4 separate regions of the Homo sapiens genome follow, and regions 1, 3 and 4 are each linked to region 2. The links are contacts of gene promoters, found by promoter capture Hi-C in blood cells and fetal thymus (Javierre and others, 2016). All regions are on one chromosome and are shown on one strand. The core of a region is centred on a gene start or on the middle of the fragment in contact, and the rest is flanking DNA. Distances in the headings are between cores, read along the strand shown. Region 1 overlaps TPD52-MRPS28 (TPD52-MRPS28 readthrough). Region 2 holds the start of ZC2HC1A (zinc finger C2HC-type containing 1A). Region 3 holds the start of LINC01607 (long intergenic non-protein coding RNA 1607). Region 4 overlaps PEX2 (peroxisomal biogenesis factor 2).

Region 1 (7,125 bases), core at 1,289-3,788, 1.4 Mb after region 2:
TCAAAAATAAATATATTTTTTCTCTTCCCTTAAAAAAATCAAACAAATTGTACAGAGGAGAGCCAAGTTTGGGATGGTTTGTTATGCAGCAGTAACTTATACTGTTTCTATAACCTATAGAAGCAGCAAAGAAAAGACTCCAAATGACAGCTGTGCAGCAAGCATATGAACAATTTGTGATGATTCAAATACGAGGGCTCCCAAAGGAAGGCTGGGAAGTCTGGCCACATGGCTTGAACCTTGGCTCTACCGCTTACCAGCTCTGGGGACAGGTCTGTGCACTTAGAATCTCTGTGCTGCTGTTTACTCATCTTATAAAATGGTGTTTGTAATTATATCTATCTATTTTACAAGATTGTTGTAAGGAATAAATGTGTGGCCATATGTAAAGCACTCAAATAGTGTCTGAAGGTAAACAGACCCTGTCAAAAACTTTAGCTTCTTTAAAAATTAATTTCTTATAGACTCAGTCACCACCATCAAGTTTTATTGACTAATCTAGTATTTGTCAACCAAGATGATTTCCCCCCTGCCACCCCCACTCCAGGGGACATTTGGCAATGTCTGGAGATGTGTTTGATTGTCATGACTGAAAAATCAACAACTCTTCTTAGATGCATCTGAGAGGTGGGGGTCACAGGGAAAACTGCTGTTCTCAAATGTGGAGAGACAAGTGAATGCAGAGAACTACTGAAAAGAAGCCTCCAAGAAGAAACCTCTGTGGGAACCAGTGCCGAGGTAGGGAAACCCGAGCTGTAACTGGTGAATTGGTGGATGCTCAGTGGGACAAGTCTGAAAGTTAAAAACTCCAGAGAGACTCAGTTATTGGGGACTCTCACACTTTTGTGAGTTTTAACTCCAGGAGCTCAACCTGGTCCTTACAGTGAATATAGGAGAAAAATCCCCTTGTACTTCAGACGGCAAGTTCTGTGGGGAATAGAACTATTTTGAAATACATCAGAGCACTCTCTCTTATTCAACAATTCATTTATCAAACAGGTGTTGTCTTTTTAATATACATTAAGCACATATATAAAACTATCATGCATATGACATGTGTCCTCAAGGAAACTCTTCAACCAAAGCCTAAACACTTGTCAGAGCCTAAGTGTCCTGGAGGAAGGGAAATAACCAATTCTAGCTGGCACTAGTCATTCTGTCCTACCAAAAGAGAGGGAAACACTGAGAAGCAAATGTGCAGTTCATAGTCCAGAGGCACAGGCTCACTAGAAGACTGAGACCCACTCATAAGACTATAGAACACTTTCCCTCCCCACACACCCTATCACCACATTACTAAAGGCCGATTGACAGCCATTCCTTTTACCCAATACATCATGCCCAGCTATCAAAAAGAAATTACAAGATAGACAAAAAAGCAAAAAACACAGTTTGAAGAGACAGAGCAAGGATCAGAACCAGATTCAGACACAGCAAGGATACTGAAATTATCAGTCCAGGCATCTAATACAACTATGATTAAGACACTAAGGGCTCTAACGGAAGAAATAAGATGTAAGAACAGATAAGCAATGTACGCAGAAAGATGGAAATTTTAAATAAGAATCAAAAAGAAATGCTAGAGATCGAAAGCCCTGTAACAGAAATGAAGAATGCCTTTGATGGGCTTACAGGTAGATGACACAGCTGAGGAAAAAAAAAAACTGTGACTCTGAAGATACCTCAATAAAAACTGCCAAAACTGAAAAGCAAAGAGAAAAAAGATTGAGGGAAAAATTGAACAGAATATTCAAGAACTTTGGGACAACTACAAAAGGTGTAAACTAATGGGAATTCTAGAAGGAGAAGAAAGACAAATACAGCAGAAATATTTGAAACAATAATGACTAAGACTTTCCTTCAAATTAATATCAGACACCAAACCACAGATCCAGGAAGCTCAGAGGACATCAACCAGAATAAACACCAAAAACACTACATCTAGGCATATAGTATCATTTTCAAACTACAGAAAAATCAAAGATGAAGAAAAAATTCTAAAAGAAGCTTGGGGGGAAAACAGCTTTCCTACAGAGGAGAAAAGATAAAAATTATATCCAGCTTCTCCTCATAAATCATGCAATCAAGAAAACAGTGGAGTGAGATATCTAAAGTGTTAAGAGGAAACAAAAAAAAAAAATACTAACCTAGAATTCTGTACCCTGACAAGTTATCCTTCAAAAATGAAGGAGAATTAAAGACTTTCTCAGACAAATAAAAATTGAGGGAATTTGTTGCAAGTAGACCTGCCTTGCAAGAAATGTTTAAAGAAATTCTTTAGAAAGAAGAAAATTATAAAAGTCAAAAACTCAGATCTACATTACATAAAGAAAGGCAGAACACAGAGAAGGAATATGTGAAGGTAAAATTAAAACTTTTAAGTTTTTAATTAGTAATTGATCTAACAATTAACAGTTTGTTCATGTTAAACAATTTGCTAATAATAAAAGGGTTAATTATCTGAAGAAGTCGGAATAATCCTTAATGTGTACATGCCTAAAAATAGTCAAAAACCATGAGGCAAAAACTGACAAAACTGCAAGGAAAAATAGATGAATCATTACAGTTGGAGACTTTAATGTCCCTCTATCAGAAAAGGACAGATCCAGCAGGGAGAAAATCACTCAGGATATAGCTGAACTCAACAACATCATAAATCAACTGGATATGATGGACATCTGTAGACAATTTCATCCAGCAACAGCAGAATATATATTCTTCTCATGCCACATGAAACAGTCACCAAAACAGACCACATTCTGGACCATAAAACACACCTTAACAAATTTAAAGGAATAGAAATCATGCAATGTCTGCTTTCAGACCACACTAGAATTTAACTAGAAATCAGGAATAGAAAGATAGCTCAAAAATCCCAAAATTCTTAGAGTAAACAAATACACGTCTAAATAACATGAGTCAAACAAATCTCAAGAGAAATTTAAAAATACTTTGAACTAAATGAAAATGAAAACACAACTTATCTAAAATAAAAATTAGCACAGAAAGCAATGAAACTGAAAACAGGAAATCAATAGAATCAACGAAAGCAAAAGTTGGTTATTTGAGGTAAGCTTCTAGCCAGACTAAGAAAAACAAAAAGAGAGGACACAAATTACTAATAATAGAAATGAAAGAGAGGACATCACTACATATCCCATGAACATTAAAGAAATACTATAAACAACTCTATACCCACAGATTTGATAACCTAAATTAAATGGATTAATTCCTTGAAAGACAAAGTCTGCCAAAATTCAAGTAAGAAGAACAGATAATCTGAATAGGCCTATGTCTATTAAAGACATTAAATCAGTAATTAATATACTTCCAAAACAGAAAGCCCCAGGTCCATATGGGTTCACTGGTGAGTTCTACCAAACATTTAAAGAAGAAATCAAACCAATTCTCTACAATCTCTTTCAGAAGATAGGAGTGGAACTTATCCTATGAGGACAGTAATATCTTAATATCAAAACCACACAAAGACATTACAAGAAAAGAAAACTACAGACCAATATTTCTCATGCATGTAGATGCAAAAATCCTCAACAGAATATTAGCAAATCAAATCCAACAACATATAAAAATTATATACCACAACTGAGACTTACGACAGGTTTAACATTCAAAAATCAAAATGTAGACAAAGCATTAATAACCAGGATATATAAGGAGTTCAAACAACTCTATAGGAAAAAAATTCTAATAATCCAACTTTAAAATAGGCAAATAATCTCACGCCTATAATCCCTGCACTTTGGGAGGCCGAGGCGGGCGGATCACAAGGTCAGGATATCAAGACTATCCTGGTTAACATGGTGAAACCCCATCTCTACTAACAATACAAAAACAAAACTAGCAGGGCATGGTGGCAGGCGCCTGTAGTCCCAGCTACTGGGGAGGCTGAGGCGGGAGAATGGCATGAACCCGGAAGGAGGCAGAGCTCGCAGTGAGCCGAGATCGTGCCACTGCAATCCAGCCTGGGAGACAGAGCAATACTCTGTCTCAAAAAAAAAAAAAAAAAAAAAAGGCAAATAATCTGAATGGACCTTTCTCGAAAGAAGACATACAAATGGCAAACAGGCTTATGAAAAAGTGCTCAACATCATTATCATCAGAGAAATGCAAATCAAACCTACAATGAGATATCATCTCACCCCAGTTAAAATGGCTTTTATCCAAAAGACCAGCAGTAATACATGCTGATGAGGATGTGGAGAAAAGGGAACCATCATATACTGTTAGCGGGAACATAAATTAGTACAACCACTCTGAAAAACAGTTTGAAGTTCCACAAAAAACAAATAACCAAAACTAAAAATAGAGCCACCATATGATCCAGCAATCCCACTGCTGGTTTTATACCCCAAAGAAAGGAAATCAGTATACTGAAGAGACATTTCCCATGTTTGCTGTAGCTCTGTTCACAATAGCCAAAATTTGAAAGCAACCTAAGTGCCCATCAACAGATGAATGGATAAAGAAAATGTGGTACATATACACAATGCAGTACTACTATTCAGTCATAAAAAAGAATGAGATCCTGTCACTTGCAACAACATGGATAGAACCAGAGGTCATTACGTTACGTGAAATAAGCCAGGCACAGAAAGACAAACTTTACATGTTATTATCTGTGGGAGTTAAAAATTTAAACAATTGAACTCATGGAGACAGAGTAGAAGGATGGTTACCCAGACGCTGGGAAGGGTATTGGGGGTTTGTACCTATTAACCATCCCCACTCCCCTATATGTGATATAGTATACTTATAGTATATAAGGGGGTGGGGATGGTTAATGGGTACAAAGAGTAGTTAGAAAGAATGAGTAAGACCTAGTGTTTGAGAGCACAACAGGGTGATAAGCAATAATTATTTAACTGTATATTTAAAAATAACTAAAAGAGTTTAATTTGATTGTTAACACAAAGAGTAAATGCTTGAAGGAATGGATACTCTATTTACTATGATGTGATTATTACATGTTATATGCCTGTATCAAAGTATCTCGTGTGCCCCCTAAGCATATACACCTACTATGTACCCACAAAAATTAAAAATAGAAAAAAAATGTAATCCATCACATCAATTGGCTAAAGAAGAAAAATCACATGGTCGTATTTCATTTCGTCAAATGGAAAAGCATTTGACAAAACCCAATACCCATTCATAATAGTAACTCTCAGAAAACTAGAGAAAGCTTCAACTTCCTAAAGAATATCTACAAAAAACCTACATATGTAATGGTAAGTAACTTGAAACTTTTCCTACTAAGCACAGGAAGAAGGCAAGGATGTCCCCTCTCATCACTGCTTTTCAACATTGTACTAGAAGTCCTAGCTAATGCAATAAGACAAAAAGAAAAAATAAAAGTATACAGATTGGGAAGGAAGAAATAAAACTGTGTATGATCATGGATGGCATGATGACCTATGTAGAAAATCAAAAAGAATCAACAAGAAAAAAACCTCCTGGAATAAGTAATTACAGCAACATTACACAATATAAGGTTAATATACAAAAAACTATGTGGCCAAAGTATTGGTAGTCATTAATGTGTAAACCAAGAGTATGAGACAGGTCTAAATCAATTTGGAAAGTTTATTTTGCCAAGGTTAAGGACACGCCCATGACACAGCCTAAGGAGGTCCTGAGACACGTGCCCAAGGAAGTCAGGGTACAGCTTGGTTTTATACAATTTAGGGAGACATGAGACATCAATCAATACGTGTAAGATGTACATTGGTTACACTGGTTCAGTCCAGAAAGGCAGGAGAACTAGAAGCAGGTTGCGAGGGTGGCTTCCAGGTCATAGGTAGATTTAAAGATTTTCTGATTGGCAATTGGTTGAAAGGGTTATTATCAATAGAAAGGAATGTCTGCGTGACCATAAGGCATTGTGGAGAGTATGGTTTTATCATGCAGATGAAGCGTCCAGGTAGCAGGCTTCAGAGAAAACAGATTGTAAATGTTTCTTACTAGACTTAAAGAGTCATTTCTATCACTAATTCTGAAAGGAGGGAGGTATAATGAGGCACGTCTGGCTCCCCCTTCCCATCACGGCCTGCACTAGTTTTTCAGGTTAACTTTGGAACGCCCTTGGCTGACAGGAGGGGTCCATTCAGATGGTTGAGGGGGCTTTAGAATTTTATTTTTGGTTTACAAATGTAAATGCTGGTCAATGAAAATGGTAAGTATGAAGAAAAGAGAAAAGCTGTGAGCCAGATGCTGACGAAAAATGGAAAGAATTGAAAAGATTTTTATCAAGGAGCCTTTTTAAAGTATTTCTGATAGAACAGTAGTCTGAAATGGTACTGAGAAACGAGAACGAAGATGAGTCATTTTTTCCTCCTAGCCTTGAGACCCGTTGCAATCTATACTAGGGAAGACCAGAAGGGAAGCAGTGTTATCAAGGGAAACCAAGAAAGCAAGCAAGAAATACTTGTAGAGAAGGTTAAAGGGGAGATTGTTCGTAAAAAGACATAGGAAATTTGTGGCCAACGAACACACATTTACAGAGCAGGCCTGAAGGAAAAAGGTCAGGTTGTAACAAAGAATAGTGATCTCTATCATAACCCATAGGACAGAAGAAGAAAACACTGGAATTTCTATTTGTTTTTTTTAACTTCACCTTCAAAATGTTTTTATGTGTAAATGCTTTAAAATGTATATAACAAAAGAAACTACAGTACGAATATATATATTCGCACACACACACTTTTTTTTTTTTTTTGAGACTGGGTCTCTTTCTGGCGCTAGGCTGGAGTGCAGTGGCACAATCTCGACTCACTGCAACCTCCGCCTCCCATGTTCAAGCAATTCTCCCGCCTTAGCCTCCCGAGTAGCTGGGACTACAGGCATGAGCCACCATGCCCGGCTAATTTTTGTATTTTTAGTAAAGACAGGGTTTCACCATGTTGGTCAGGATGGTCTTGATCTCTTGACCTCATGTTCCGCCCACCTTGGTCTCCCAAAGCGCTGGGATTACAGGTGTGAGCCACTGCGCCCAGCCACAAATGTATTTTTTAAGTAAATACTGGAACATCTGCTCAAAAATTTATTAATGAAGGGACATGATCAAAAAAGTTTAGAAATCTCTGTAATAGTGGTATATCGTGGGAG
Region 2 (6,952 bases), core at 2,065-4,564:
GATTTTTAGTTAAGATTTGAAATTGTGATGCAAAGGGATGGATAGGCAAGATCATAGCCGAAACTTGAAAAAAAAAACTGATCTTTTTGCAGCTGAAAATTAGTTTGAAAGTAGGGAAGCATAGAGCTAGAATAATTGCTATCACACTATGAATGGAATAGCCTTTCAATCAATGTAGTAGGTAAAGTTTGCTTTAAGTTCCTCACTTTTTTAAAGCCCCTCTTTCTTTTCTTGATGTTTCTTGTCTAGGACATTTTTCCTTCAATAAATCTTCACCCGTGACAGCCTACCTATATGCTTTCTGATTATTCCAGGCCATGAGAAACTATCACTATTTTCCCCCTGAACACTTAGAAAATTTTATTTTTACTTCAAATAAAACTAGCAAGAGCCAACTCAGAATATGCTTCCTCCCTCTAGAACAGTTTTAAGGGAAATATTTTCTTATGTTTTTGATGAAAATTATCATTTTCTTATGATTACCAAATGTATGAATTATTTTTATATGCTAAATTGTGGTAGGTTATTCCTCTTCTGGTCATGGAAGGAAGAAATGTCCTACATAGTGGAGGTGATAAACTGAGTTCTCACCGAGACTCAGAATCTCATTTAGTTGTGCTCTGCAAATGATATGAATGAGAACCAATGGCTTTCTCTAAAAGGGGACTTGAACTTCGTGTGGGATTTAAGAGACTGGAGCTTTGAAACAAGAAGCTATATGCAGCTTGCTCAGCTTTTTGGGATGTGCAGAATAGATGTGGATCTGCTTAAGGGAATGGTGGTTGAAAGCAATATAATGCAAAGTGGAAAGAATCAAGGTATGATGTAATAAAACACAGATACAATATCTATTTCAGTTAAGTACTAGTTTTGTGATCTTGACCAAGTCAGAAACATCTCTGAAAGTTTGTTTTCCTTTTTGTATGATAAGGAGGTCAGAAGATCTCGAATTCTTATTGATCTATAAATGTTATTTTCAGTTAACAAGATCACATGGCAGGTAGAAAAATTATGTACAGGTAAGTGCTTAAAAACATGAGAAGAAGCTGAGTTTCATTCATTTGAGTAACTGGCTAGTGATAAAATGGACTTGAAGCATAGAAGGTACTCAACAAACATTTGTTGAATGAATGCATGCCGAAAAATGGATTAGACTGGAGAGGAAGTAATGTCATGATACAGTGCCAAGACAAGACTCTCAGGCTAGGTATGTAGGCGGCAGAGGAAAGAACTTATTGAAGGCAGATAGGAAGAAGTCCTCTTTACTCAGGGGTCAGAATCAGGGAAAAGCTGCAGGAGCCAGGGTAGCTGTAGCGTAAAAGTTATGAAGAGACCAAAAGCATAAAAGTTATGAAGATACCTGTAGGGAAGACTAGCAATCATGTTTTAGAGAATTAAGATTCACAATAGAAATGCCTACTCAAATATATGTTAAACAACATGTCTGAACGCTTGGGTTTACACTTGAGGCAGCTATAATAAAAGGCAAGGCAAGGAAAGGGAGTGAGGAGCCCAATCAAATCACCATAGGCTTTAGAATTTAACAGACAAGAGTGTAGCCAAGCTCTACCATCCACTAATAATACAAATATTGACAAAATATTAATTGCTCTGAGACATCTAGAAAATGAACATTTTAATTCTGATAAATGAAGATTGTAGTATCTACTTTGTAGATTTCTTTTGAAGATTTGTGAATATATGAAAATGGCCTAAAACATGCCTCACATGATTTATTCTTTAATGCTATTTTTATTATTTTTAATGTTACTGTAGATTTTATGTCGAATAAGGTATCAGCCAACTCAATATTCGTCTTGCCTTCAGTGAAAGAACTTGTAATTTGTAAAATAATGGCTTCCTTATTTTTGTATTTTCTTCTGTGTGCTTTTTTTTCTCCTTAATGCTCTTTTAAAAGGCCTTCCCTCCCAACCAAAAATTCTACCTTTGCCTTAGTAGCACTAAGGAAGAAAAAGGACCTTTCCGCAGCACCCAGTCTAGAGTAGCTTATTGCCTGCAAGGCTATGGGTTGGCCAAGGAGGCCCAGGATCTCAGAGAAGCAGAAGAGCCAGGGGAACCAGGGAAGGGCGGAGGGAGTCATTGAGGCATGGTTGAAGTGGTCTTTACATGGCTCCACACAACAGATGGACTCTACCACATTCAAATGCACTTGGAGCACCTTCTCAGTAAGAGATGATGCCCCCTCAAGTGTTTGCTTGTTTAAACATACCTTCATGTGAGTGGAGAGTAGGAGGAATCCTGCTTCCTGAAGGTAACTGATTTCATAGTAGATGAAGTTAGATATGAAGTTAAACTCTTCAATTAAACAGATTAACAATAACATTAATCCGAGGTTTGTTATGGACAACACATTAATACTGGTAACTTGCCAGTAGATACGCTATAGTCAGCAAACAGTACAGCTTGTTTACGATTGCTAAATCAAATTTTCAAAGAAATGTAGTTCTGGTAATTGTAAGCAAAACCGTTAAAATGGTCTGAGTTAGTTTTGAAGTTACTTTCATCTTCAGGAGGTTTTGAACTCTGTTAGAGACGGGCGGGCCTCATTCTGTCAGGTTGTAGGTTAATTCCCCAACTCAAACTTCCCCGATCAAACATTGTCAGGCCAGGCGACTGTTTTGGTTTATGGATGATAAAGTATAGGGCCAAGGTAGGCCAAGAGTAGAAGACAGAGGGAGGGCTGGGTTTCACTTCTAATTTTTGGCCCAAGCTTTCATGGTGAGGAAACTGTTTTCAAGGGCTTAGAGCAATCGCAGTTCCACAATCGCAGATAGAAAGTATGATTTCTCTGGAAAAAAAGTGTCTTAACCTATGAAGCTGTGTGTGAAGATCAAGTGTAGGGGATACGCTGAGGTCAAGTCATGCGACCAAAGACCGGAAAACGGAGATTGCTGCATGCAAGCGTGCTGGGCGTTTGTTTGGTTTGCTTGCCTGCTTAAAGTATCCACTGGGAGGGATGGCGGCTAGAAGTCAGAGGCATTGACTGATTGAGGAACTGGTGAAGCGGAGCCCATGAGGTGCTGAGGTACTCTAAATAGGAGGATAAGGTATGAGGCAAAACAAGGCTGGAGTCAAACAAAGGCGCCGTTGCATCGCAGATTGCAACCTGAAGCGGCTCCCGGCTCCCTGGAGAGTAACCCGGAGAGACGGACAGGGGTGGCAGCCAGGAGGAGACCGCAGGAACCTCGCCTCCGCCGCGGCCCCGCCCCCACGGATCCCCGCCCCCGCAGTTGCGGAACCAATGGGAGCTCGGAATGTTAGCGGGTGGGAGGTGCGGCTGGGTTGCTACAGCCAGAGCTGGGCGGTGGCGGGCGCTGCTGAAGGAGTCTCGCTGAGCTCGAGGAGGTGGCGCGATGGAGGGACTGGAAGGTGAGGCGATGAAGGGATGAGGGCAGGACGGCTAGAGCGGGCCCGAAACAGCTGGGGACCCTGGACACCAGTAGCAGGAAGGCGAGGGCTGGTTCGGTGCGGCGGACCTCGCCGCGTCCCGCCGCGCCTCCGGAGGCTGGGGCCGAAGGGAACCGGACAGTCCCCGATGCGGTGGAGCTAACGCTACCAGGCTGCCCCGCCTCAGACGGTCTTCAACTGGGCTTTCCCGCCCGGAGCCAGATCCTGCCCCTGGCAAGACGCCTGCACGTCTCTTCCTACCATTTTCTGATCTTGCTTGACTCCTGAGTGCCCTTTTAGTGATCCCAGTCTCTGGCCAGATTTTGTTTTCCTTGTACTGGACTCTCTCCATTATTGTCCACGGCCTTAACACCAACAGGCCACTTTGTGCTGCAGCCCCGGGGTGTGTCTCCAGCCTCGAGCTCCTGACATTCCTTGGCCGATTTCCCTAGGTAACCGGCTTTTTACATTTCGACAGCATCTTCTGTCGGAGGGATGTCAGAGCATCTCCTAAGGAAGTGTCACTGGCCAGCTTTAGAGCCGGTACAATAGATTACCCGGAGGATTTGATGACTTATTCACGGCCGCTGTGTGAGGAAGAGCCTGTATTGGTTCCTTATCTTTGGGTTTATCTTTGTACTGTAACCATGACTCCAGATTTTGCTTTGTTCCCAGTTCTTTCACTTTTTCTCTATTCTGTTTACCCATTTTATCCTGTGTAATGAAAGCATTCACCTAAAAACAAAGGAAGGACAAAAACCACAATAACTAGCATTGGCAACAACAGTTTCAAGATTTTTTAATTTGTTATGATGAAGAACAAACCTTCAGAATTGAAAGATCCTATTGTCTTGATTTAGCTCCTTTCCCCCGTCTCCTAGTTTACACGGATTCAGTTGGAATTAAGAATGAGCAGAAGCTTTTGAGTCTTGTGTATTGTTGCATGCCAGGGAGTAAAATATTCTACATTGTGTGATGAAGTGCAAAGTGGTAGCCGGTAACTTTTTCAGTCACCTATTCACCAAAAAGCAGATGTAATAACATGAGTAGAAGTTTATTTCGTGCTTTTGCTCTGATAAATGATTCTGATAATTTTCCGTTTGTGGACAGCTGCAGTATGCTATGGCCTAATGAAGGTCTTGTTTTTTGCTTATGTGTTTTTGGAAGATAATTCAAGTTTCCATGAAATAAGGAATTGTAATGATAGTACAGTATATTTTACTTTCAAGATACTTTTGTATCTTGGTGGGATTAAAGCATGGGTTATGGAATTCTCATGAGATTATCATATATAATATGATAAGGTTTTATTACATATTATCTATAAAGTGTTTTGAACAGTTTGCAGATTTTTATTATTTTATTCAACATTTGTTATTAAGACAAAGATCATCATCTGATTTTTCACTTATGTATCCTAGGCACCTAAAACAATGTCTGACACAAAGTAGGTACTCAATAAATATTTGTTGTTAAATAAATGTCTATTATGGGCATCTTTTTAGGTTCTAGGTTGCAGCAAAGAATAAAAATGATAAAGCTTTACTCTCATCGAACCTACATTTTAGTGGACCTTACATTTTAACAGTGCTAAGATATTACTATTGAAACCTTACTACGAATGTTTTTAAAATATAATGGAAACCTATTATGACACTCAGTTGCATAGGTGGACAAAGGTAGGATTCTGTATTTATAGGCATATTTTATGGGTCCAGCTTATGATGTTATAGGGCCCAGCTTATGATGTTAATAGTGCTTGCCCTTTACTTTTAGATTTTTTTTTTTTACAAAATAAGATGCTATCATTAACTATAATGTGTTTAATTGTGATAAACTGAGTTGAAATATGTGAAGTTGCCCTAAATTATGTAGGGCAAAACAGTTGAATTCTGGTAATTTCAAGCAGTTCAATCTAATAAAAGCTCTTGAGAATTTTCTGTTGAAGTTAGGATGGTGCCTTTCTCTCCTTCCTCCTTCTCCCCTCTCCCTCCCCTAAGAGATCACACCTTGCAAATATCAAACTCTGAGTCTTAAGGTTACCGTTCATTAATTCATCCATTCTTTCATTCTAGAAACATTGATACAGTGATAGATTAGGTAGTTTCTTACCTCTATTGGAAGTTAAAGTCTAGTACTTTGAAGGTGTTTAATAAATATTATATTGCAGTATCCAGTAAGAAATATTCAAAAGTTTGCTTAATGTGTCAGAGTAATTGCGTAAATATTGTACTCTGGCATTAGACATATGTTTCTAGTTGAAACCAGTTACCAGACATTAATCTTGGCTATAAAACAAGAAAATATATGGACTCTTGAAAATTTCTATTAAAGATAATCTTACTCTTTCTTATAACTTACGTTATTTGCATGTAATCATATACCATTTGTTTTACTTTTGGTCTTCAGGGTCTTTATGCTTCTTGAATAGTCAATAGATGAGGTATTAGGCTCAAACACTATACTTTGAAATGAAATATAAGTTATCTGTTTTTGTAGAATCAATATCTGAGCACTTCTACATTCTGTAGATAGTTATAGCAAAACCTTTTAATTCCTTTTCATCTAATAAAATTTGTGCCCCACAAAATCTATCTAAGGATAATAGAAGTAGTTCTAGACTTGAGAGAGTTCCAATCTCTTATAAGCTTTTTTTATTTGTAAAATGGAGAGATGGTAAAATCTAAGCAGATTTTATCCTTATATACAGTATTGTCATTCCCTTCATATCCCTGATAAATGGTTATAAAAATTGTGGCAGAGATCAGACTGTCCGTTCCTCTTGTGGATTGTTGAAATTATTAGATCTTAGTACTGCCCTCTAAAACTTGATTAGAAGACTGATTGCTCTTCAGTGTAGCCCTTGGTTTAAAGATAGTCGTGTCTCATCAAAATTTCTGTTTTGTTTTATTTTTTCGTAGTATAAATGTATACTAGTTTACTGTATAATTCTTTATCTTTATTAATTTATCTAGCATTTACTGCTTTTTGGTAGTGAGTTGGATGCCAGATATTTTAATAGACAGTATATTGGAGAGGACTGTGTTTGAATCCTTGCTTTGTTTCTTTTTAGCTCTATGATTTGGGCAGTTTACTTAATCTGAACCCTTATTTTCCCTGCTATGAAAAAAATGGAGCTATTAAATATGTAACTACCTAAATTATATTAAGTATTAAATAATGTAATATATGTAAAACATTTAGCTAAGTACCTAGTGCATAGGAGGCCCTCTCAGTGTGTGTTTGTTAGATGGCGAAAATCACAAAAAGCATGTTAGCAGGTCCAGTATAGGTAAAACATAGCATGCTTGGGAGGAGCGAAGGAAACATTGAAGCCAAGAGAGAAAGGACTTTAAAGGTGAAAGAGATTTGTCAGCAGTGGCTCAGACTGTAGAAAGGCCCAGTAGGATGGGGATTCAAAAGAGAGCTTCAGATTTGACAATTAGTAAATAGTAATCCGTTACCTTCCTTTTTAATGTCATTATTGTGTCCTTATTAAACAAACTTTCCCTGATTATCCATACTTCTCCAAGACAGCATTATG
Region 3 (6,627 bases), core at 2,821-5,320, 1.1 Mb after region 2:
CCGTGGCCGTTCTGGGGCAGCAACAGCGGGTGCGCGATGTGCGGGTGATGTCCGAAGACGGTCCCCCAGGGAATGTGTCCGAGGCCCGCGTGGGCGCCGCTCGCGGCTTCCCGCTGGGAAGCGTAGTTGTTGAGATGCGAAACCAGTCGAACTCGAAGCGGGTCAGAGGCATCTAGTCCTTCAATGATGCTCAGATAACGCGCAACTTCTGCCAGGCATTCCCGAAATCCCAAACTCCGATAGTCCATAGCAAGGGCGTGCGCGTCAAAGTAACCTAAGCAAAAGAACAAAAGAAAAATCTCAGGGCTTTGCCCGTTTCCCTCATTTCTTAAGTCCCAGAGACAGCCCTTCCTGGCAGATACCTGCATCCCTTAAAACACAACAGTCAGGGGTTCTTCCGAAAGTCTTTGGAATCAACAAAAATCTTTGCATTAATCAACATAAGCAGAATGTGTTTGCTAATGCAAGTTCAAAGCCCAATTAGAAGCTGCAGAGCAGAAATTGGAATTATACCCTACCAGCAGATGAAACTATGTTCATTCCTTTAATGTTTTCCCTCAACAACAACAAAAAATACATCAAGGGCAGAGAAACCACAGAGCAGTGAAATTCATTAGACACACAGATGTAAGTTATCATCGCGGAGCTTTTAGGCACTTGGACCTCAGTAAAGCATTTTCCTGCTGGAGAGACATACACACAGACCTTGGTCTCCCGTTAGGTTTCCTTTACTTAACCAGAATACATTTCTTTCCTCAAGAGGCATGTGGCAGCACCTTTTTTTTAAAATCCCGTATACCAAAAATAAGACCACATATTGTTTTTAAATGCTTTTTCTCAAAATAGCAATGGACAAATGTGAAAGCTACCTGATCTGAATCAGGGCTGTCACAACTTTTGAAGACCTCACAAATAATAGGTATTTTTCCAAAAGATGCACTAGCTCAATCCGCAGAGAGCTGGGGTGGTGAATTCACTGGAGAAGATTCTATGTGCATTCGAAAATGTACTGACAGGGAACTGCACACACCACACACCGTTCTCTCCCCACCCCCAAAGAAAAATCAGGCAGCTACTGCACCAATCCTGGCCTTCAGCCGCTGCTCACTCTTTGCCAACCATTCAGAGCCCCCACTAGGTCTAGGAGATGTACCTTTCCCTCCTGCCGTATGCAGCATTTTCAGGTGATCCACGGTCATCTGCAGGATCTCGGCTTTTTCTAGCTTAGCAGATCCCTAAAGATGAGAATGGCAAAAGATTGATTTGGCACAAGTTCCTTTGGGGAACAATTTAAAATATGCAAACATATATACAAAGATACATGCTTTGTAAATCGTAAAGCATGGACTAAAGCAAAATCAGTTGTCTTCACAAAATACGCTGGTATCTGTGTACGAATTCATCTAGGCACAAGCAACACAGCTATTTTCCAAGGCGGATGAGATTAATGAGGGGAAGATTCAGAAGGTGCAGATAGCTATGCTGAGAGCTTTACCTACTTGCTCCATTACCTGCTTCTCAAAAGCACTGGGTACCAGCCTTCTCAGCTCAGACAAACTGTTATTGATCCGGTCTCGTCGGCGCTTCTCAATTATCTGCAGAAGGCAAGCAAAACAAAGGAAGGCATTACCATTACGACTGTAAATTTCAAAGACAAAAAAAAAGGTGGTTATTTCCGTTAATCAATAACAAAAATAAAAGGAGAGTGTAAAGAGACTCACTCCTCTCCGTCTTTTTCTGGCCAAAATCTGGGAAGATGTAGTTGGGGACATGGAACCTAGAGCCGAACTCAAGTTTCTGAAAAGAGAAAAAGAACAAACAAAAACTGAAATCGCCGTTAAACGAGGAGAGGTGATCTGAGAGGTCGCCCCCACACCCTCCCCGCACTCAGACTTTTTTTGCCACTTGGGCTGGAAGGCACCTAGGGGTTCCCTGGCCGCAGGCTGCCGCCAGCCTGCGACGCGCGGAGGTCAGCGCAGGGCACCGGCGCGCCAAGGGTCCTAGCCCGCTGTCACCGCGGCAGGCCTGCGCTCGCCTCCCGCTCTGGCTCGGCTCCGCTCCGCCGCCGCCAGCTCACCCATTCTCGTCCGCACTCTCCTTCTCCACCTCGATGGTCTCGTCCAGCTCGCTGTCCGAGGAGCTGTACTCGGGGTGAGCTCGCTTCATGCTGGCTCCCTGGGGGTTCCTGGGGAGGGTCGGCGCGGCGGGCAGGGAGGAGTTAACTACAGCGGCGCCTCTCCGCTCTCGGCTGCTTGCGTTCCGCACACACTGATCCCGCTCACGCTTTGCCTCTGGTTAAAACTCAACCATCCTTTCCCACGCTGAGCCCCTTCCCAGGGCCCTGGGGAGGGCGGGGGAGTGGGGAAGGCGGGCGAGGGGGCGGAGAGGCGGGGCGGCAACTCCAGGGCAACAGCCGCCCCCCGGCCAATCCGGTTTCTCGCGCCGCTGATTGGCAGCCGCTCCGGGGAGGGGCGGGAGCGAGGCCGAGGGCTCTAGCGGACCGCGCCCCCGCCCTCCGCGCCCGCCCCTGCCCGGCGGCGGTGCGTCGGCTCCGCGGGGGCTCTGTCCAGCCTGCACTCAGGGGAAGGAGGAGGCGCGGGCGGCGGGGAGGCGCGGGAGGCCGGGCCGGGACACAAGCCCGCCGGCGGCCGCGGCTCCTCCCCGCCCCGCGCGCCCCGATTGGCCTGGCCGCGCGCCAGGGCCGAGCCTGCAGCGCCTCCGGTGAGCCGCACGCGCCGCGGGCCGTGGGAAAGTGCCGGCGCCGCGGCCGCCAGCCAATCCGGGCGGCCGGCGACGGCGACGGCGGCGGCCGCGCTGGCGGCGGCGGCGGCGGCGCTGGGCGTCCGCATGAATGGAGAAGAATGGGCAGGCGGGGAGCCGGGCCGCGCGAGGGCGCGCCGGCGGGGGCTGGGCGGCCGCCGGCCGGGCCCCCAGTGTGAACCTGTAATCGGAGCCTGGGCGCCGGCCGGCCTCGGAAGCCGCCGCCTAGCGCCACCGTAAATCTCGCCCGCGTGGCCGCCAGTGCCCGGCGGCTGGAGGCGCGCGCTGTTAGTGGGGCCGTGCCGGGTGCACCTGGCCGGGCTGCGCGCCGGCGGCTCCGCGGAACCCGCAGGGAGCCGGGAGAGGGGGCGCCGGGCGCGTCCACAGTGGCCACCAGCCCAGGGGCCGGTCACATGGAGGAGCAAGCTGTGGGCTCAGGGGACGCTCTTTTTGATTTCTGGGACCGAGGCCGCACATGCAGCCAGACTCGTTTCCGCAGGGGCTTCCCAGCCGCGGAATGGAATGAATACCCCTGTGCATCTCATTTCCGGGGAAGGGGAGCACTTGTTTTTTCGGCCGCCTTGGGGAAAAAAAAACCCAACGGTCCCTGGGAATAATCATTATGCTGGGATTTTTTTGTTGTTCCCCCGCTGCCCCCCCCCCCGCCCCCTCCCCCCGGCGGCCAGATCCTCTCAGCGGGCGACAGGGTGGCGGTGCTGGCGTTTGCGTCTGAGGCCGGCCTTGCTGAGGGAATGCACGTCTCTGGCCCCAGACACACACCTCTGGCTTCGGTGGCTTGGCGTGGCGTGTACTGGGTGCCACGTGAAGTCCCCCCCGAGTCCACTAAGAAGACAGATTTTTTAAAAAATACAGTTGTAAATCTCGAAACTGATTTCTGATTCCAGAAACAGAATGGTTGTTTTAAATTTGAAAATCCGGTCTTCTGTCCCTTACAAAGGTACACAGCAATTCGCATTCATCTCAGATCCACTCTGAAGCTTGTAGTCCTGTCTGTGAGGGAAAGCTTAATATCCATCGGTGAGAATAACAAAAGGCGTTTTCTCTTTGCAAAAAGCTTCCTGGTTTCTAGACTTCCTTATTGATCTCAATGCTATTTTTTTTTTGAGATGGTGTCTCACTCTGTCGCCCAGGCTGGAGTGCAGTGGCGCGATCTCGGCTCACTGCAACCTCCGCCTCCCGGGTTGAAGCAATTCTCCTGCCTCGGCCTCCCCAGAAGCTGGGATTACAGACGCGCGCCACCATGCTCAGCTAATTGTTTTTGGTATTTTTAGTAGAAACGAGGTTTCACCATGTTGGCCAGGCTTGTCTCAAACTCCTGACCAAAGGTGATCCGCCTGCCTTGGCCTCCCAAAGTACTGGGATTACAGGCCTAAGCCACCGCGCTCGGCCTCAATGCCATCTTAACACATCCTGGATGCCAAGCACTCTGAGTGGCCGGCCTGGGCCTAATCCATAGTTCCTCTCTGGGCACCCCCATCCCTCCACCACCGCCCCCAACGGGAAATACAACCTCCTGGCTCCCACTGAAGCTTATTCCACTTCACATCACCTCCAGCCCTGAGCCTTTCCATGCAGCCCCTCTGCTTCCCTGTCTAGGCTGGGCCCTTCCATCAGCCAGCCTGGGTTTGTTGCTGCTGGCACCCCAGACCTCTGGCTTCCTGAAACTCCACCGCATGCTGCCTGTTAGTTGTCAGTCCGAGGTCAATCCCACCAGCCGACTTTCTCTCTGGAAGTGCAAATTTTAAGGCTCCTTCCTGGCCCTCCCAGTCTTCAGTCCAGGGCATCCATCACTACTTCCTGCCTCTTCCCTCCCAGAAACTGATGGTCCAGGCATAGGAAACCATCCCACCTGCTCCCCTCTGCCTTCCAGAAGTCCCTCTGACCTTCCATTTCTTTCCCCAAAGTGACAGGCCACCCTTCCCCAGAACCAACGTGTCTACTTCCCCTCTGGCTCTATAGATTTTCCCAGCCTCTGGCACCTACAATGAGTCAGCCTTTCCTGCTTTGGCTCATTTCTGCTGCTGTGGAGAGGCGTGGACAAGCTGCAGATGTTGAGTGAGACGAGACCGGGTGGGGTTAGGGATGCTTAACTCTACATTGGCATCCAAATGAAATATTGCTCACATGTTCATGATTACTTTTATGTCAAAAAGGAGGTTCTCTACGGCCAGGCGCAGTGGCTCACACCTGTAATCCTAACACTTTGAGAGGCTGAGGCAGGAGGATTGCTTGAGTCCAGGAGCTCCAGATCAGCCTGGGCAACATAGCAAGATCCCCATTTCTTAAAAAAGAAAATTAAAAATTAGCCAGGCATGGCATGCACCTGTAGTCCTAGCTTCGTAGAAAGCTGAGGTGGGAGGTTTGCGTGAGGCCAGGAGTGCCAGACCAGACTGGGCAACACGGCAAGATCCCCATCTCTAGAAAAAATTTAAAAATGAACCGGGCATGGTGGCCTGTGTCCTAGCTACTCTGGGGGCCGAGGCTTGAGCCCAGGAGGTCAACGCTACAATGAGCTATGATCATTGCACAGCACTCCAGCCTGGGTAACAGAATGAGACTCTGTCTCTAAAAAAATTACAAATGAGGTTGTCTTGCTTCTTAAGTTTGACTGATTTTTCAATGCTTCCAATAAATACGTATTCTTCTATGTGCCATGTGCTGTGCTAGGGCCTGAAAACACAAAGGTGACCCAAAAGTCATCCATCTTGCACTCCTAGAACTCACATCCTAGGGAGAAGACAGAGAATACACAGTAAAGTAGTTATGGATGCTCCAGTGCTTGGAAGCACTTGTTGGTAAGGAAAAACGAGGGGGTGAGGATTCTTTATGAGGTCTGGGAAGGCCTGTTCTGAGTTTGGAAGGGACTTAAGATCAAGAAGAGGTGAACTAGGTGGTTCAGTAATAACCGGGAAGGAAGGGGCGGAGACCTCTTCCTTGAGTGGTGGGATCAGAGGAGAGAGTTACACTGAGGGCACCAGGCCCAATTTTCTCCCATCTGCTGTGTAGAAGGGATTTACCCCTGGAGGCTTTGAGTGAAGAACGACTTTAAACATCTTTGCTACCCTGAATGAAAGGTACGTCCTGCAAATTGACCCCTTCTGCAACTTAAATGGGACTGCCCAGGCCTGGCCCCTCAGGAAAAGGACCTTTTACCATTTGGGGGTGGGGAAGTGGGCAAGTGTTGCCTTTTATAATTCGTCTCTCCTGAAGAATCACCCTTTTTTATTTCGCTCAAAGGCCTATTTTCTTGCCTGGTTTGTAGAGTCTGGGTTCAGTTACTTAGCTTACCGTTCCGCAGGCTGCTTTTATCTGCGTTCCCTTGCAGAAGAGATACTCCAGATGTCCTGGAAGAGAGAGACACTCCAGATTTAGGAATTCACTCGAAAGGCCAGGCCCAGGTGAGGGCCTCCCCAGAGGAAAAGTGGTAGAATCTCCAGGGAGGAACAGCTCATCCTCAAACTCCAGCTGCAGCATTTCTCTATGAACGAGGCTTAGGGTGGCCAGCTTGTTGGAAGGGATGCAACCAGTAGCTGGGTGTGAGACTGGCCTTGAGGAAGCCCCAGTCGTCAATTATTCATTCATTAGAGCTTTGGCCACTGTGGAGGTCCCTACTTGGATACCCTTCATGAGGCCCTGTCTCTGTCAGTTTGCTGGTGGGTGCAGGTGATCTCAATTGAACAGGCATGGGACATAGTGCTCAGGAGGACCAGAGGCTACACCTGCAGCTCTGAGAAAGAAGGGGCTGCCGCTCTCTCTAACCTCTTAGTCTAATTGCTGTACCATTCTGAGGCAAAGGTCTTTGTCAAAACAAGTTTTAGGTAAAGCTAGCCAGTGGCTGGCTGAAAC
Region 4 (6,130 bases), core at 1,501-4,000, 1.7 Mb before region 2:
TAGGGAACAACAACAAAAAAAGAGCCCAAATAGCCAAAGCAATTCTGAGCAAAATGAACAAAGTTGGAGGCATCATATTACTTGACGTCGAACTATATTATAAGGTGATGGTAACCAAAAGAGCATGGTACTGCTACAAAAACAGACACAAAGACCAATGTTATGGAACAGACAGCAGAGAAATAAAGTCACACACCTACACCCATTCTTTGACAAAGTTGGCAACAATAAACAATGGGGAAAGGACTTCCTATTCAATAAATGGTGCTGAGAAAGCTGTCTAGCCATGTGTAGAAAAATGAAACTGAACCCCTACATTTCACCATACACAAAAATTAAGTCAATATGGATTAAAGATTTAAATGTAAGATCTCATTTTAAGAATCCTATAAGAAAACCTAGGAAACACCATTCTGGACATCAGCTTTGGGCAAGAATTTATGACTAAGTCCTCAAAAGCAATTGCAACAAAAACAAAAATTGACAAGTGGGACCTAATTAAACCGAAGAGCTTCTGTACAGCAAAAGAAACTATTAACAGAGTACACAGAAAACCTACAGAATGGGAGAAGATATTTGTAAACTATGCATCCAACAAAGGTCTAATATCCAGAATCTATAAGGAACTTAAATAAATCAATATGTAAAAAAAAACTATTAAAAATGGGCAAAATATATAAACAGATACTTCTCAAAAGAAACTACACAAGCAGCCAACAAACATATGAAAAAATTTTCCAAATCACTAATCAGAGAAACGCAAATTAAAACCACAACGAGATACCATCTCACACCAGTCTGAATGGCTATTACTAAAAAGTCAAAAAACAACAGGTGCTGGCAAGGCTGTGGAGAAATGGGAATGCTTATCATACATTGTTGATGGAAATGTACATTATTTCAGACCCTGTGGAAAGCAGTTTGGAGATTTCTCAAAGAACTTAAAACTGAACTCCCATTTGACTATGCAAACTCATTAGTGGGTATATATGCAAACGAAAATAAGTCGTTCTACCAAAAAGACACATGCACTCCCATGTTCATCGCAGCACTATTCACAATAGCAGAGACATGGAATCAACTTAGGTACCCAGCAACAGTGGACTGGCTAAAGAAAATGTGGCACATATACACCATGGAACACAATGCAGCCATAAAAAGGAACAAAATCATGTTATTTGCAACATGGATGCAGCTGTAGGCTGTTATCCTAAGTGAGTTAGTGCAGGAACAAAAAACCAAATACCACATGTTCTCACTTATAAGTGGGAGCTAAACAACCAGTATTCATAAAGATGGCAATAATAGACACTGGGGACTACTAGGTAGGGAGAGACAAAGAGGGTATGAGTTGGAAAAAAAACTATTGGGTACTATACTCAATACCCTGTCACCTGTTACCTGGGTGACAGGATCCACTATGCTCAACCTCAGCATCATGTAATATATGCAGGTAACAAATCTGCACACGGTACCCCCTAAACATAAAAGTTGAATTTTTTTTTTTTTTTTTAAGACAGAGTCTCGCTCTGTTGCCCAGGCTGGCAACAGAGTGTAGTGGCTTGATCTCAGCTCACTGCAGCTTCTGCCTCCTGTGTTTACGTGATTCTCCTGCCTCAGCCTCCCAAGTAGCTGGGAGTACAGGCATGCATCACCAAACCTGGCTTTTTTTTTTTTTTTTTTTTTTTTTTGTAGAGATGGGGTTTTGCTATGTTGGCCACGTTGGTCTTCAACTCCTGGCCTGAAGTGATCCACCTGCCTTGGCCTCCCAAAGTGCTGGGATTACAGGTGTGAGCCACCGTGCCCAGACAGAAATTTTTTTTTTTACCAAAGAAAAATGTTTGCTAACTTATTTGTGGTGATGAGTATAAATGTAGACTACATAGTAGTTCTAGCTGCAGAGGACCATGGATCATCAGTTGTATATACAATATGGCCAATTGGTTTGGCTAAAAAGCTTGTTTAGAACTGTTTTCTTGCTGAAAAAGATCTTGTCTTAAACAGTAACAACGCTTACTGAATGTTTTTTGCTAAAACTGAATGTTTCAAATAAACCAAATTTTTGCCTCTAAGTGCCATCCCATTTTGAAGGCTTCTCGAACAGAGCAATACTAATTTCTGCCTTCTTAACCAAATCAAACAGAATATAGGGTAGATTTCATTGATGATACAAGGTCATTTTTTAAAACCACAATTACTATTCACAGTTAGTCCTCAGAGCCTGTGTGTCCCACTCTAAATGATACCAGATTAAACTCTGTTTTTAAGTTTTTCTTCTTTGATACCAAGTTGTTCATTATTGCTTGTTATGGTAAACCATGCTTGCTTTTACCAGTTTTCCTCTTCTCTTTCGTCTGTTATTTTTAATCTGTTGGTGAAAGTTGATTAGAATTCTATTCAAAATAAAGCAGCCTCTTACTGGAGACTTGAGAAACTGTCCCATGAGTATAGCTTTGGTGATAGAATCTATTAAAATCTATTTAGGTTTCTTCAGGCTTTATTTCAGATTGCAGACCATTTCAGTGATACTGTTAATGGAAATAACAATCATGGCTCATGTTGACTGTTAGCAATAGCCTTTGACCTGGTTTTCTTGCTTTGACTCATACCTCTGCACAAATTATCCAGAGTGATCCCTTAAAAATGTAAATCTGATCATGTCACATCTCTGCTTAAAATCCTCCTCTGGCCTCCTCAGAGCTGGAATAAATCCAGGTATTTTCCCCCTGGCTTGCATGACCTCACCTCGCCTACCTCATTTCCCACCTCTTTCTCTGGTTCACTGGGATTTCTTGCTGTTCCTCAAAAAGGTAAGACTCATCTCAGAGACTGGGCGCAGCCATTTCCTTACCCTAGCACCCCTTTTCTGCTTGGCTTTCTCCGTTTCCTTCATATCTCTTTTTAAGTATCACCTCAGAGAGGCCTTCCACAAGCACACAATTCAATACAGCAACCCCTATCACTCCCCATTTCAAAGCCTGTTTTATTTTCTTCAGAGTACTACTAACATTTGAAATTATCTTTATTATTTATCACCCCTCTAAGAATGTAAACTCCATGAGAGCAGGTGTTTTGTGGTATTCATGAATGCATTCCCTGAGTACGGAAAAGGAATGTCTGCAGGGGCTCAATAGATAATTTTTGAGAGAATGCTTTATTTAATTCCCATTAGAATTCTAACAGGTAGACATTATTGAATGTCCATTTCATAGGTGAACAAATTGAATCTTAAGTTAAATGAACTTGTCCCAAATCCAGTCACTAAATACTGAAAGCAGGGGAGCTGAGAGCAAAGTAGTAGGACATGCCTTGTGTGAGCTCTGATTGATATCTGAGTAATTTAGATATGATCACTGAAGTCACTTGGGTACTTTAAATACAAAAGTAGCAAACTTGATTTGAGAGCAAGTGCAAGGGAGAGAAAAGAAAAATGTTAAGTGTAAATGTTTTTATTTTCCTAAGGAAGAACACTTGTAACTGATGGTTACATACTTGAGGCTAACATGGAAACATATCATGTAGCTAAATCCCATCCAGTTTTCCTAAAGCTTGAGCCTGGAGCCTGCTGGGGAGTAGAAACAGTCGCACCAGAGGTATAGCAACTCTTCTGGCAGTGCCCAGAGAGGCAGAGACTGAATGGAGTTCCTGGGGGCTGTCATAGCAACTTGGCCAAGAAGTCTGGTATTTGTAGTGGGGCAGAGATACTCAAGAGACACTTGGGTGTGTCAGTCATAAATCTATTGTTTATAAACGAACACTACCTGGCATTAGTGTGTTGTTTGTCCAGTGTACTATATGCAAGAAAAACAAAAAAAAAGGAAACCAGAAAGGAAAAAATGGACAGTATTAGATGTGGTACACACCAAGATATGCCACCTGGCTCCTCCTGCAAGGATGTACATGGTGCCCAGCTGTGGAATGTGGTCAGTGGACTGCCTCCAGCTGTTGGCTCCCACAGGATCTGCTTCCGCTACAGAGCTGCCATGCTTGAGATCACAACCTTCCCAGAGCTGCCCACACCCAGTGACTGACAGAAGTGTAGGTAAAAAGGCCTATTTACTTTGGCCTAATTTAGGACATTCTGACAGATGACACTAGCTCAGAGCTCCCCTCTGGGCTGGCCAACTTTTTTCAGGCCTGCTTTAGAGTACTCTCATTTCTTCTGCCTATTCCTGCTTTGCTCTTTCCCTTCACAGGCATGGATCCCTGAGAGTTATACATAAAAATCTCTTGTACTTCAAACCCCTTTCAACGCCAGCTTCTGCAGAACCCTATCTGCGACCTTAGGTTTATTCAGCTAATAAAATGTTTCTATTGCTACACTAGAACTAAAAGGCTCTGGCTATCTAGTGATGAACAAAATAGTCATGGTCTCTGAACTCATGGGGGTTATCACCTAGTAGGGGTGGCAGATGTTAAATAAAAATGAAAAATAATAAAAACCTATTTTTACTAAGTGCCATTAGGGTCTGTGGAAAAAAACCACCCCCTACCCCAATACTGACAAGTCTATCAGCTGGCATATATGTAAAGTACTGTTTTCTTAAGATTTTGAGAATATGGATAACTACTTAGAAGTTACTCTATCAAAATAATACAATTGTTGATATAACAATTTTGTTGACTTTATTTAATCCTTTCAAATCTGCAATGTTAAAGAATCATCCAGTTACTTATGAATGTCCTTATCAAGCTAGATCACTGGTAAAATGAGACTGCAATGTGGACTTTTGAAATGAGTAAGGCAAATGTAGACTCTAACTAGTAGAGATCTGCCAGCATCCACCCTTCTAAGAACACCTCAGTTTCCTGTGGTGAACGGCCTCCTCCAGGACTCCTTTAGGTTCATGTGGTATATGGGAGGAGCATCACCTACATTTAAGTAACCAGGAACAGTATTTTCCATCCCCTAGCTATAGTGGCTGGTTCAGGAATGTGCACATAATCCAAGGCAGACCAGTAACAGTGAGCTCCTGGACTTTAGCTGTAACTATTAGGCAAGAGTATCTCATGCCAGTGGGATCAGAAAGCTAGCAGATTATAAGCCTTGAGCTTCTAGCGGCCATCATTCTGTGTGAGAATGAAACCGACTCAGAGTAATACTGACAACAGCAAAGGAAAGCACTACTATTATATTCTATTTACTATGTGTCAGGCATTGTTTTAAGAGCTTTATATACACTAAACATGTAATCCTTACAATGAACAGATGTGCAGAGATGTGGCACATTGCCCTAGGTTATACACAAGTGGGATTTGAATTCTAGCGGAATCTGTGTCCCTCATGCCATGTACACTCATCAAAAAAATGAGAGCCAAAGGATAAAGCCTGTCTCAAAGAGAACCATCTGAGCACCTACATCCAGACTGGGCCTGCAGTGTGCAGCTGGACTCTTCACTTAATGAACTCAGATTCAACATTGCATTATTCACAACAGAAAGTGAAAAGAACCTAAATGCTCTATGATGGTGGTTAAATAATAATAGGAATAGGAATATGATGGCATATACATAGCATTTTAAAAATATATTATGGCTGGGTGCAGTGGCTCATGCCTGTAATCCCACAACTTTGGGAGGCCAGGGTAGGAGGACTGCTTGAGCCCAGAAGTTCAAGACCAGCCTGGGCAACAAAGTGAGACCTCATCTCTACAAAAATTAGCCAGGCATGGTGGTATGGGCCTGTGGTCCCAGCAACTTGGGAGGCTCAGATGGGAGGATCGCTTGAGCCCTGGGAGGGAAAGGCTGCGGTTAGCCATGATCACACCACTGCACTCCAACCTGGGTGACTGGGTGAGGCCCTTTCTCACCAAAAACAAACAAACAAACAAAAAACAAAGACGTTTGTATATATTTTTATTTTTTTAGAAACGAACTCAAACTCCTGGGCTCAGCCTCCCTAAGTAGGGAGCCTGGGATTACAGGCATGAGCCATTGTGCTCAGCCCTAAAATAGTTTTGAAGAATATTTATACATAGGAAAAAATGCTATTTTTTATGCATTATAATAATTTTGTAAATAAGAAATGTACGTGCAACAAATCTACAAATATAGTAAAATATAGTGATGATCTCTCTCAAAAAATTGTGGGAAAGTTGATTTTATATTTTTTCCTGAATTGTTGGTGTTT

What was found. Contacts are between HindIII fragments. The CHiCAGO score rates a contact against its expected background, and 5 or more counts as called.
Region 1: a fragment that was not itself captured here is called in contact with the fragment with the promoter of ZC2HC1A in region 2 in 1 of 17 cell types (total B cells); the score reaches 9.8 in total B cells.
Region 3: a contact is called between a fragment that was not itself captured here and the fragment with the promoter of ZC2HC1A in region 2, in 1 of 17 cell types (monocytes). The highest score is 5.8, in monocytes.
Region 4: a contact is called between a fragment that was not itself captured here and the fragment with the promoter of ZC2HC1A in region 2, in 1 of 17 cell types (non-activated CD4 T cells). The highest score is 5.6, in non-activated CD4 T cells.

Annotation. Positions count from the first base shown.
Region 1 is chr8:80,014,286-80,021,410 of GRCh38, forward strand. The region is part of intron 5 of TPD52-MRPS28 (TPD52-MRPS28 readthrough); the gene reads right to left. All of the region lies in intron 1 of MRPS28 (mitochondrial ribosomal protein S28), which reads right to left. Among named protein-coding and RNA genes, the nearest start is that of MRPS28, 12 kb to the right of the region's middle. RefSeq lists a silencer at 2,469-2,763. The HindIII fragment of the contact is 1,067 bases long and covers 2,006-3,072 here.
Region 2 is chr8:78,662,775-78,669,726 of GRCh38, forward strand. It overlaps ZC2HC1A (zinc finger C2HC-type containing 1A), which reads left to right and starts at 3,315. Exons shown (of 9, transcript NM_016010.3): 1 at 3,315-3,390. The coding sequence starts at 3,375. LOC105375911 (a long non-coding RNA gene) reads right to left here and starts at 3,205. Exons shown (of 4, transcript XR_007060972.1): 1 at 2,231-3,205. RefSeq lists enhancers at 2,438-2,946, 2,947-3,454, 3,419-3,468 and a silencer at 3,129-3,348. The HindIII fragment of the contact is 1,596 bases long and covers 2,730-4,325 here.
Region 3 is chr8:79,765,498-79,772,124 of GRCh38, forward strand. It overlaps LINC01607 (long intergenic non-protein coding RNA 1607), which reads left to right and starts at 2,645. Exons shown (of 4, transcript NR_125410.1): 1 at 2,645-2,721. LOC101927040 (a long non-coding RNA gene) reads right to left here. Exons shown (of 6, transcript NR_110954.1): 5 at 6,070-6,125; 6 at 3,875-5,508. HEY1 (hes related family bHLH transcription factor with YRPW motif 1) reads right to left here and starts at 2,270. Exons shown (of 5, transcript NM_012258.4): 1 at 2,078-2,270; 2 at 1,722-1,797; 3 at 1,512-1,595; 4 at 1,154-1,235; 5 at 1-274. The coding sequence starts at 2,166. RefSeq lists enhancers at 1-206, 1,793-1,842 and silencers at 2,293-2,772, 2,813-3,172, 3,273-3,442. The HindIII fragment of the contact is 475 bases long and covers 3,834-4,308 here.
Region 4 is chr8:76,975,655-76,981,784 of GRCh38, forward strand. PEX2 (peroxisomal biogenesis factor 2) reads right to left here. Exons shown (of 4, transcript NM_000318.3): 4 at 4,604-6,130. Among named protein-coding and RNA genes, the nearest start is that of MIR3149, 12 kb to the left of the region's middle. The HindIII fragment of the contact is 1,591 bases long and covers 1,956-3,546 here.